3 separate regions of the Homo sapiens genome follow, and all the other regions are linked to region 2. The links are contacts of gene promoters, found by promoter capture Hi-C in blood cells and fetal thymus (Javierre and others, 2016). All regions are on one chromosome and are shown on one strand. The core of a region is centred on a gene start or on the middle of the fragment in contact, and the rest is flanking DNA. Distances in the headings are between cores, read along the strand shown. Region 1 holds the start of SP1 (Sp1 transcription factor). Region 2 holds the start of RPL41 (ribosomal protein L41). Region 3 holds the start of MAP3K12 (mitogen-activated protein kinase kinase kinase 12).

Region 1 (4,091 bases), core at 928-3,427, 2.7 Mb after region 2:
CTCACTGCCATTGCTGCCATTGGTACTGCTGCCACTCTGTTCCTTTGAGGTAGGGGTAGCCCCAGAGGAGGAAGAGATGATCTGCCAGCCATTGGCACCCTGTGAAAGTTGTGTGGCTGTGAGGTCAAGCTCACCTGTTCCCCCTGACTGACTCGGGCCCTGGGAGTTGTTGCTGTTCTCATTGGGTGACTCAATTCTGCTGCAAGTTGCTGCCAGCAGAGCCAAAGGGGATGGCTGGGACTCCTGGCCGAAAATAAGGGAGAGGAAAGGAGTTAGTGACACCCAGCTGCCAGCCTAGGGGGCAGTATACAACAAATAAACAGCAACGTAGTGCAGACAAGGAGCAAAAAACAGAAACAAAAAGCTGACCTATCTGTATTGCTGAAACTCCTTTGTCTTTGGGGATCTCCATTCTCTTACTTCCTTATCTATAAAATGGTTTAGTCTCTCCCTAAAACGCTTTCTGTGAAGAGTAAGGCAATTATCTAAGAATATTTACATCTTCTCAACACCTTCCCCACTCTATGATTATCACTTACCTGCCCTCCTCCTCCAGTGCTGCTGCTACTGCCTGTGCTGCTACTTCGAGCCTGTGAAAAGGCACCACCACCATTACCATTGCCCCCATTATTGCCACCAACTCCTTTTTCAATTTTCACCACAGCTGTCATTTCATCCATGGAGTGATCTTGGTCTAAAATAATTAAAAAACAAACAACGTAAACTTGAGGGAAGAAAAGAAATGAAGTAGGAAGGATAAAAGGAGGCTATGATGAAATAGCAATGACTAACAGGAAGGCGAAAGCCACCAGTATAAAGAAAATGGATTGGAGGGCAGAGGGGAGCTGCAGGGCATGCAGGACATGAACTAGGTTCAATGTGCCAAAAGTGGGCCTTAATTCTCCCTTGTACAAAATTAAACTAAGAAAACATTCAAAAAGTGCTTTGGGGATAGGAAATGTGAAGGACGGTAGGCATGGTGAGAGTTTCTAAATAAGAAAAAGTATCCTAAGGGAAAAAAAGGAAAAGGACAGGTAAGGCATAAAACAACATGTGGGTGCATGGAAAGCTTGCTAAAATTAAGTTTAAAAGAGATGGAGAGGCCAGGCGCGGTGGTCACGCCTGTAATCCCATTACTTTGGGAGGCGGAGGCAGGCAGATCACCTGGGGTCGGGAGTTTTGAGACCAGCCTGACCAACATGGAGAAACCCTGTCTCTACTAAAAATACAAAATTAGCCGGGTGTGGTGGCGCATGCCTGTAATTCCAGCTACTCCCGGAGGCTGAGGCAGGAGAATCGCCTGAATCCGGGAGGCAGAGGTTGCAGTGAGCCGAGATCGCACCATTGCATTCCAGTCTGGGTAACAAGAGCGAAAACTCCGTCTCAAAAAAAAAAAAAAAAAAAAAGACAAACAAAAATCCAAGTGTGAAAAGTAACGAGAGGGGAAAAAGAAGTAAAAAGTGTGAGTAGAAAAACATTTGTGAATACTGCTAAGGAACTAAAGGGATCTACAGGTTAGTAGTCAGAAGGTTTCGGGGCGGAGGGCGGGCCCTGAGGGAAAGGGCGGTTTCGGGGTGAGGGGCGTGGAAAGGGCGGGACGGTGGGGGGCGGGGGGGAAGGGAAATCTACGGAAAGTGGGGGGAGGAGGGCCTTGGAGCAGGCGGCGACCAGAGGGCGGACCAGGCAGGCGGTTGGCCCGGGCGGGGCCTTCGCTGCTCGGGCCGCCCCCGCGGCTCCAGCCCCCGGCGGGAGGAGCCTCAGGCGGGCGGCCGAGTAGTGGGGGGTAAGGCCCGTCCCCCGTGGCCGGGGCGGGCAGGGGGCGGGCGAGGCCACGCTGCCCCCTCCCCCGGGGCGGGCGGCCCATCCCCCTCCTCCTCGGAGGCCCCGCCACTGCCCCGTCTCCCTCCCTTCCCTCCGCCCCGGGCGGGACCTAGGCCGCCGCCGCCGCCGCCTCCCGCCCGCCCCCGCTTCACGGCGGGGATCGCCCGGTCGGCCCTCGCGCGCGCCCCCTCACTCGCCTCCCACCCCTAAGCTTGGAGTGGACTCATCCTTACCGCTCATGGTGGCAGCTGAGGGACAAGCTCAAGGGGGTCCTGTCCGGGGGGGTTGGGGGGGGCCGGGAAAAACGCGGACGCTGACGAGGCAAGCGAACCCGGACCGGACAGGGAGGGGGGGGTAAGGAGGAGGGAGCAGCGCGCCACAAGCCCAACCTAGGCCCCGCCCCTTCTCTGCTGCCCCGCCCAATGAGGGAGGGGGAAAGGAGGGACTTGCAGAAGAAAGACGGTGGAATTATCCAATGGCAAGACTCGCTTGCTCTCCAAGGCGTGTGAGACTAAGTTGCGTGCCTGGTGTCCGCCTAAAAAGACCGCCCTCTCAGTGTTAAAAGCCAATGAAGGATGCAGGAAGTGAAGATGGGCGGGAGCTGGAGATGATTGGCTTGGAAGGAAACCAGTCAACCGGCAGGCGGGCTCCCTGAGACGTAGGGATAGGCAAAGCTTTGATAGGAATGACAGAACAACGGCCAACCAGAATCCGGGATATGCTTGGGCAAAATCCTAGTGGGCGGAGAGGTAAGAAGTAGGCAGGAATAGGAGAGGATGAAGCTGATTAAAACCAATCAGAAATCAGGCGGGCAGCCAGGAACGTTATGATTGGAGTTAGACTGAAAAGAGACAGGAAAGGACGCATATTGACGTGAACTAAAAGCCAATTAAACGCCGAATTAACTGAGGGCGGAAACTTGGAGTGGCAGAGGAGAATTGGCGGCTCCCTCAGTTATTCAATCCAATGAGGGGACGAAGTAGGCCTGGCACCGCCTCCTAGTTAGCCAATGGGCGTTACTGGAGCTGCCCATCATGAGGGAGGGAAGAGGGCTATGCCAAGAGGAGACCGTCGCCATATTGGCCCTCCTCAGGGGACGTTGTTACAGTCATTAGGTGGGACGCTTTAGCGGAGTCCTGCAGCTCAACAGGTGTCAGAGCCAAGGCATTCGGCGCGCAGTTCCGCATCAACACTAGGACTTGTTTGCGTCTTCATTTAACTGCCCCTATAAAGTACCTCTCAAATCTTACCCCCCTCCCGGGTGGTCGGACAGGCGGGCAGATGCCTCAATGTCGCTGCAAGCCCTGGGAATGCAGGCGGGACGAGATCTGGTGACAGCACTCACCGAATAAGTTAATACTGAGCTGACCAATATGCAGAGTCTCCGTGAGACTCCAGAAAACGCGATTTTATTAAGTTCCCCCAGACAAAGGCGCTAACCACTTAAACGACTGGTTAACTTTTCAAGCCTTGAGGCTAAAGTGCGGATAAGTCACTTCCATTTTTTCCCCCTTAATAGTAAATACCGCCTATGCATAAAGCAAGATAGCTGAGCTCCAGCTTTTTGCAATCACGAAGGTTAAGAAACTTTACTGCAGGCACCTGGATTTCTGGCCTCCTCTTTATCCGTGTTTTGGTGGAGCCGGCCTTAATAGCTTGTCAATGACACGATGAGGTCATGTCCTTCAGTATTTGTATCTTATATGTTGTCACCTGCTTATATGTTCTTATGTTTTAAAATGTGAATTCTCCTAAACTATTTTAAGCCCTTTGAAGGTAAGAACTGAGGCCTCTGCTGCTTTAAACAGGTAAAAAGGTGAAGTGATTGCTGACTGCCTACCGTGTTAGGTGCCTAAGTCAGGGAGGCAGTTAGTATTCCATGTCATCCTTAAAAGGAAGATTTTATTAAGTATCAGCTATATTATGTATTTTATAAGTGAAGACATTTAGGCTGAGAAGTGACTTACCCAAGGTCACAAAGCAAATGAGTTGTAGTGTTAGATTCCAACCCAGAATAGTTCCACCAAAAGTTTTCTATAAATTCTTGAGGGAATTAAACTGCCGCCGGGCGCAATGGCTCAGACCTGTAATCCCAGCACTATGGGAGGCCGAGGCGGGCGGATCGCTTGAGCCCAGGAGTTAAAGACCAGCCTGGGCAACATGGTGAAACCCCGTCTCCACAAAAAATAACAAAAATTAGCCAGACGTGGTGATGTGCGCCAGTAGTCCCAGCTACTCGGGAGGCTGGGGTGGAAGAATCGCTTGAACCC
Region 2 (3,878 bases), core at 1,259-3,758:
CTTTCCTAATTCCTTTGGCCTTGACCTACCCCCACCCCACTACTGTGACTTTGCCTTCAGATCTCCCTAAAATGAACTAACCAAACCAGAGGCCAGAGTTACAAGAGAATCTGTAAGAGGGTCCTCCTCCTCTAAAGAGAGGTAGTCCCAGAATAATAGAAGCAATCAAGGAAAGAAGTGGTAAAAGAAGATACAAACTTTTAGTAAAGGGGAATGACCAGGTGAAGTACAAATGCCATCTATCCAAGCCTGGCTCACGTTGCAAGTCGCACCAGCAGCAGATAATTAGTTATGATGCTCCTCCCCACCCCACTCTCCCAGAATTGATACCTGAGGTAGCTCAGGTGAAGTCCGGGGCTCCTGTGGGTCTCCACCTCCACATCACTGCTGGGTTCTGAGCAGGAAAAAAACAGAGACTTGGGTGGAAGAAGGAGTAAGAGTGGAGGACTATGGGGTGGTTGTCACAAGAAATCTGACAAAACGGCAAAGCTTCGAGAACGTGAGGATTTCCTCAGGGTTCAAACTGAACTTCACCTGTCCAAGGGAGAAGTTGCCAGTAAGAAGAGTAAAACTAATTCGGAGGGACTGGGAGGAGGGGTTGGAAAACCAGCCCTGAGTGAACAAAGAGTGCGGGGCGCCCTGCCTCAAGATGAAAGAGGATGTGAGGGTCAGAGCACCGCCAAGGGCTGGAGTTAGTAATGGCTAGTGAGGAACCTCAAAAAGGCAGCGTCTGACAGTGCATTGGGATGGCCGATTAGACTTGAAGGCAGTGATTGTGACGCTTCCCAACACCCTAGAGTTTGCGAAAGAAGTCCTAGGAGTTTTCCCGCAGCAAGTCTTCTAGCTTGGCAGGTTCCGTGCAGTGCCGCCGGCGCTCAGCCGTGGGCTACGTGAATGGGACACTAAGGGCGCGCGAAGTGAAGCGGGGAGCTGGAGCTCCAGGTGTCATCAAGCTGAGGGGATGGGCAGGGTTGTGACGTCACGAAGCTGGCGTTTGCTCGCGATGCGGGGTCACTCAGAAAAGGGGCACTGCCCTGGGGTGTGAGGACGAGCCAGCTCGGTTCTGGGGGGCCTTCTGTGGCCTGGCCGAGCCCAGCCGCTGGGCCGGCCCCGACTCCTCCCCTCCGGGCGCGGCCTCCACCTAAGTCTCCCGCCTCCCTCACCTGCCGCCGCCGCCGTAGTTGCTGCTGCCGCCTGCCGGTCCTCTAGCTTCGACAAAGAGCCGCCTACCCGATCGCTCTTCCGCTTCCTGCGGAAGAAGTGACGCTCTAGCCAGCAGACCCGGAACCATACTCTATGGTGTATGAAGTACGCGTGCGACATGCCGCAGGGCGTTCCCAGCACGCTTTGCGTGTCACTATGGCAACCCAACCCAAAGGCACGACATGGTCTAAGCGGTAGTCGCCAAGGCAGCCCTCCTGGAAAGGGGCGGTACCAGCATTGGCCCCTAATAACCCGCGAAACCTAAAACCTGCCTCCAGAGACGTACCATATCCCATCCAACTCCAGCGAGATGCAAACCACACCACGTAACCCGGGCTGTTGCCTTTATAGCTTTGATACCCTCCATAGCACAGGTAGTGACAGGGCAAACTCTAATGACAGAAAACCCCCACCCGATGGAACCATAAAAAACATAATAGACAAGATGATTTAATTCTTCAGCTAAAACAGCGGAAGAGGTGATTTATTATATGGTTGTTACACTCGGCCACAAATAAACACAGAAATAGTCCAGAATGTCACAGGTCCAGGGCAGAGGACCAACATGGGCATTTTGTTTATGAGCAAGGTGGGTCTCAGAGGTGATCGGCGATCAGAGGGCGATGAAGTTCTAGATCCATTGAGACAAGCTCTAGACAGTAGCATGCAGTCCCACAACTTGTACCAGCATCCCCAGCGTCTGGCATTCCATGTTTCTGCTCCTGTGGCCTCCACGGTGCAACAAGCTAGCGGTTTACTTGGACCTCTGCCTCATCTTTCTTCTTTTGCGCTTCAGCCTGAAAAGCAGACACAGGAATGGAATACACCTCAAACCAGAGTTGCCTTTCCCTCCCACATTAAATCAAACGTCCACATAAAGAATGAGGTGGTAAAATGAACAAGCACTACGGTTCTATCGTTCTCTGTTCTGTTAAATCCTGGCTCCAGGGAGAAAACACTCAAACGTTTTTCTCCTAAAGATCTTTTAAGATTTCCAAACCAAATGTTTCTCCTAAGTTTTGTCCAAGGAACTTCCCTCCTCCTGGGCTGGCAAAGTCTCAACGTACCTGCGCATTCGCTTCTTCCTCCACTAGCAACCGATCACAAGCAGCAGATAATTAAAAAAAAAAAAAAAAAAAAGGGATGAAGCTTATTAGTAGGCTTAGCAAGGATATGAAATGCACTCTTTAGAACCGGACAGATTCTTAACCAAGAAGTATGAAAGATTGGTCGTAACAACTACATCAGTAACTTGGACACCCTCCCAACATAAGATCAGAATTCCACCCTTTTCTAAGCCCACCCTCTCTACCCATAGCACTTAACCGCTAGCTCTCTCACAAACTACCTTCTCTCTCCCACCAGCTCTTGGGCACCCTTGAAACCCAGTAGTTCAGGAGGTATGGCGGACTTGCCTTCGTCTCCTCGCTACTACTCGCCAACTCCTACCTCCCAAGCTTACTACCAGGAACCGCTCACCTTGGCTCTCATGGCGCAGAGGTTTCTACAGGGAAAGAGAGAAAGGCTACAGTTAGTTTGCTGTGATGATGCTAAGTGCCGAGGTCAGATGTCTATGGATTGTACACGGAATCCCAACGCAGGAACCAAAAAACACTCACCCAAAAAAATGGCGCTAAGGCCGAGAGAAAGGCGAAGTTCCGTCTACGGCTATTTAATGGAGCGCCGGGTGTCGTCACTTCCGCTTTCACGCCCTTTGCCCCCCCCAAGGGCGGGGCTACCCAATGGGCGTAACAGTGGTTTTCGGACCCTCTTGTAGAAGGGTAGGTTGAGTTAGTTCTTTCGGAAGACCGAGTATTTGGTTTTCGAGTTACCAGTTCCCCCCCAGATTTAGTATGAGGACGCTGTGTTATTTAAACGTCAGCACCTATTTCCAATATTGGACCTAGAGGTGCAGACGGGGAAAAAATAGTGACCGCCACCTTCCCTCGCATTGCTTCTTGGGAGTTGCAGTTCCCTGGAGAAGTCCTCCATTTTGCTATGGATAGGCGCGGACTGTACAGAAATTCTTGTTTTACTGGTTTGCCTTCTTTTCTTTCTTTCTTTCTTTCTTTCTTTCTTTCTTTCTTTCTTTCTTTCTTTCTTTCTTTCTTTTCTTTCTTTCTTTCTTTTTTTCTTTTTTGAGACAGGATCTCACTGTGTCACCCAGGCTGGAGTGCAGTGACGCGATCTCGGCTCACCGCAATTTCCGCCTCCTGAATACAAGCGATTCTCCCGCCTCAGCTTCCCGAGCAGCTGGGACAACAGGCGCGCGCCACTTGGCTAATTTTTGTATTTTTAGTAGAGACGAGGTTTCGCTGTGTTGCCCAGGCTGGTCTCGAACTCCTGAGCTCAAGCGATCCGCCCGCCTCGGCCTCTCAAAGTGCTGGGATTACAAGCATGAACCACCGCGCCCAGCCGGTTTGCCTTATTTTCTAAAATAAATTGCTGCAGGGTGATTCGATTCCGGAACCATCGAAGGTCCTAAGATTTCAGAACATAGGAAGATATAAAGTGGGGATTCGGGAAAGCTGCCATACTTCAAAAAATATTTTCTCACTGTTTAAGATAGAGCAATTATTTTTCCTAAATTTCAAGAATAAAATAGCTGATTATGGTCTTCCCCCACGATGCCCGAAGCAAAATATCACTAGAGATTCCTGGCTACAATGCATCAT
Region 3 (3,700 bases), core at 856-3,355, 2.6 Mb after region 2:
GGAACAACCCTCAGGCCAGGTGCATGCTGGGGCCGCGCCGCTACTCCCTCCGCACGGCCCCACGCTTTTCGCCCTGAAGGAATCGGTACGAGACGGCTCACCTAGGCAGCCCGCAGCCCGTGGTAGTGCCGGAGCCTTGCTCCTCTTCACTCATTCCCTCCTCCGTCCCCGCGGGCGCCACCGTGACTGCAGCCTCCACGCGCCCCAATACACAGCCGACGAGCTAGGGCCGGGGCCAAGCCCGGAGTCGCGGCCGGTAGGGCCCGCCGCGGGGCACGCTGGGATATGGAGTCCCCCGCCCACCCTACTTCGTGAGCCTCCATCTGGAGGGGAGCTATCCGCCCCACAACCCTCTGCGTGCGTGGCTCGCCCGGGCAGGCTGCACCGCCTTCTGGGAGGAGCGGGCCCTCCGCCGTCGCTTCTCGAGAAGGCCGTATTTTTTTGTTTGTAATACCGTCCCGCCTCCTTCCTTCCGCGCCCCCTCTCTCCCGGTCCGTGAAGCTGTGGACATGCGTACTAGCGGAGGGGAAGCCGCTGGGTAGGGAGGCGGTAAGGACTCACTTGGGCACGGAGCCTTTTGGATCGCGAGAAAACTACAGAACCCAAGAGCCCGCGCGCCATCTGTGTCGCAGCTGGAGAGGCAGGGTCAAGCACGCACGAGAAGCTTCATGGCGTCATTGGTTACTCCCATTGCGATTACTTCCCCTAGGTGCACTGAGATTGGTTACTTCGACTAAAGGGGCGGAGACAAGGAAAAGTCAGCCCCCCCCGACCCCGCCTCCTTGATGAAGGAAGGTTGTGATTGGTCCGGAGAGGCTGCCGTCGGATCCTGGCTCTTTGCGGTCTGGGAGGGTGGGCCTTACCTAGACGCCGGAGGGGACCGATCTCTGTTTCCGCAGGGCTCTGGAGCTGGTGCAGGTTTAAGTCCGTCTCAGACAGTCCCCTCAACCCACAGCCTAAGCCCCTTGCCCTTGGGCCTCCGTGACACAGAACTTGCTTCCTTTTCCTAGGTCGTCCTTCACCTCCCTTCAGGTGTTGCTTCTTTTGTGAAACCTTTTTAGAACCGCTCTAGTGAACCTCTCTTTAACTGGCGAGGAAACCTCTGGGGCCTGATAATCAGGCTGTAATGTGGGACGACAGGATTAGAAGGACTAGGCACCTTGGTGGTCTTGTTCCCTCTTCCATGAGTCTTGGGTCTCTCAGCTGAAGAGAGCAAAAGTGAATTTTGGCCGCCTAAGATTAATCAACTGATCTGGGTGTTGAGCAGACGCGCATTGTTTAGTCCTAGAGCCCCATTGCCTCCTCCCCCAAAGTTGCACAACCACTGGGCTGAGGGAAATCTTGTGACCTTGGAGAGAGAAAGGGAGAGACCACATTAAAAAAAAAAAAGGTTCTAATGAGTGTTCTGAGAAGGGGTCAAGAAAGATGTCTTACTCTGAGCCGGGGTTGGAGGTCCAGAGGAATCTTGAAATGATAATGAGGGGTCATCCAGGAACACTGGAGGAGGATGGGGCCTAGAGCCGAGTGAATTCCAAGTGGGTGAAATTGGAGTGAGTGGTGACAATCAAGGGAAGGAGAGCTGGCAAGATCGGTATGATAGGGGGAGCAATGCCAGAGCGCTAGGGATCCCAACTGAGGGGCTGCTCTCTCCGATGTAGAAAGGAGTCTATAAGACGGGTCATAGGGGGTTCCTGTGGAATCAGCCTGAGGCCTGAGGTGGGACCTCCATAGGACACCGCCAGCAGGGAGGCGCGGGGCCCAGGCGGGCCAGGTACGAGCCTGGAGCGCGCCGGATGGCAGCAGCGGGCTCCTTTAAGAGGCCGGCGGCTCCATCGCAGCATCCCCCGCTCAGGGCGTGTCCGTCCCGGGGGGCCAGGGGCGGGGGCCCTGGAAGGAGCGGGAGTTCAAGCCGAGCAGGGACGGGGCTAGGGGTCGGGGGGTGGGGGCAGAAAGCTGAAGCTGACACCCGTGCATCCGGACACCGCACGAGCATCGCCTGTGACAGCGCCCCGGGTCCGGTGGAGGGCAGCGGGGGGAGGAGGGAAGGAGGAGGAGAAGGAGGAGGAGGCGGGAGCAGCATCCGGAGCGGAGCTGCAGCAGCGCCGCCTTTTGTGCTGCGGCCGCGGAGCCCCCGAGGTGAGAGCCTGGCCGAGTTGTGGGGGGGTGGGGGGCAGGGATGGGTCTGGGTCCTGGGATCCGGGCGTGGAGGGAGGGTCGGGATGCAGATGTGGCCTGGTGCGGGGTGATGGCGTGGGGATGCTGAGGCTGTGGGGATGGAGGAACTGGGGACCTGGACCCGACGCCTGTGGGGCTGGGAAGGAAGGGAATGGAGCGGAGGGATGCCGCGGCCCAGCTTGGAGACGAAGGGCCTCCAGAGCTGGAAAGGACCGTATTGGGGTGGGGTGGAGGATGATTGGGGGACAGACTTAAAGGACAGAGGGCAAGAGAACATCTCCTCCCACTCATCCTCAGGAAGAGAGAGAGGGAAGGAGGAGGGAGAGTTTTGGCCCCCTCTAGGGAAGGAAAGGAAGGGCAAGGACTGATATACCCACCATCTCCACACACACACACACACACACACACACACACACACACACACACACACACACACACACACACACACACACACACACACACACACACACACACACACAGCAGGCTGGACCTGAAGATTAGTCAGAGAGCACCTGTTCCTGCATGCCCAGGCGTTGGTCCCCCTCCCCTTCAAGCTGTGATCCTCCTAATCCCCTCCAGCTGTGGCATTCACCTCCAGCTGTGGCATTCACCTCCATCCAGCTGTTGCATCCTCCCCTCCCCCATTCACGTGTGGGTTTCTCCCTCCTCTTTCTCTCCATCTCCTCTGGCTCCCCTAACCCATCTCCCCCAGTCAGGCCCTCCAAAAACCTCCTCCCTTTCCCACAAACACTCCTCAAACTCATTGGCTTAAAAATAAACAAGAGTTGAGACTTGCTGGTAACCAAGGCCTTGACTGAGAGGAGGGAAGAGTCAAGGCTCTGTAGACAGTGGGAGGAAACAGTGAGGTGTCCCTTAGAATTAAGGGAGGAGTCCTACCTTGTAGATGCTCATCTGCTGCCTTTTTCAGAGGAGCGTAGGTGAGTGGCCTCCAATCAGAAGGGAGTGCACATGAGGTCTCCTCACCCCACCCAGAGTCGTCTCAAGCCACAGTCAGTGCATCCCTCTAAACACATTTCCCTTGCAGTTCTCAAGGTGGACTCCATTGCTCTAGGAGCTCTGAGTTTCAGCCAGAGGGTCCTACCAAGCTAAGGCTAACAGAAAGGATTTAGGAAGGATAGGACTCAAGTGCCCCCTGAGCCTTCCTGTCCAGACACTGAAGTTTCTCTGAGCTTTAGGGCCCCACTCCCTCCTATCTCACACTTACAGGTGAAAAAAAGTGTGTCCCCTCAAGCGTATCATTCATCCACTCACTCCCATTGTCAACTGGGGTAATGTTAGGAAAACCCCAGCTCTCAACATGGAGACACCAGCTAAATATCCATCCCAGTTATGGACAGAGGAGGCAAGAAGTTAGACATGGCTCAGGATTTCCTAGGCTTCCTTATAGCTGAAGAGGGCAGAACCCTTCTAAAAACCAATTGCTTTTCCCCTCGTGGTGACACTGTGGTAGGATCAGGCTTTTCTAGGAAGAGGACTCTTGGTTCTACCACTCACAGCCCGGACT

What was found. Contacts are between HindIII fragments. The CHiCAGO score rates a contact against its expected background, and 5 or more counts as called.
Region 1: the fragment with the promoter of SP1 here is called in contact with a fragment that was not itself captured in region 2 in 2 of 17 cell types (total B cells and total CD4 T cells); the score reaches 5.3 in total B cells.
Region 3: a contact is called between the fragment with the promoter of MAP3K12 here and a fragment that was not itself captured in region 2, in 2 of 17 cell types (fetal thymus and total B cells). The highest score is 8.4, in fetal thymus.

What each region holds. Positions count from the first base shown.
Region 1 is chr12:53,378,262-53,382,352 of GRCh38, reverse strand. It overlaps SP1 (Sp1 transcription factor), which reads right to left and starts at 2,177. Exons shown (of 6, transcript NM_138473.3): 1 at 2,055-2,177; 2 at 540-694; 3 at 1-243. The coding sequence starts at 2,061. RefSeq lists enhancers at 1-232, 645-1,403, 2,254-2,548, 2,381-2,680, 2,584-3,084 and a silencer at 1,511-2,140. The HindIII fragment of the contact is 463 bases long and covers 2,035-2,497 here.
Region 2 is chr12:56,115,604-56,119,481 of GRCh38, reverse strand. It overlaps RPL41 (ribosomal protein L41), which reads right to left and starts at 2,849. Exons shown (of 3, transcript NM_001035267.2): 1 at 2,683-2,849; 2 at 2,271-2,293; 3 at 1,515-2,000. The coding sequence starts at 2,694. The coding sequence ends at 1,958. ZC3H10 (zinc finger CCCH-type containing 10) reads right to left here and starts at 1,216. Exons shown (of 3, transcript NM_032786.3): 1 at 1,164-1,216; 2 at 331-394. RefSeq lists a silencer at 1,492-1,541 and an enhancer at 3,208-3,257. The HindIII fragment of the contact is 308 bases long and covers 2,355-2,662 here.
Region 3 is chr12:53,497,863-53,501,562 of GRCh38, reverse strand. It overlaps MAP3K12 (mitogen-activated protein kinase kinase kinase 12), which reads left to right and starts at 2,105. Exons shown (of 14, transcript NM_001193511.2): 1 at 2,105-2,136. It overlaps TARBP2 (TARBP2 subunit of RISC loading complex), which reads right to left and starts at 280. Exons shown (of 9, transcript NM_134323.2): 1 at 102-280. The coding sequence starts at 154. RefSeq lists an enhancer at 346-645 and a silencer at 1,739-1,988. The HindIII fragment of the contact is 6,087 bases long and covers 667-3,700 here.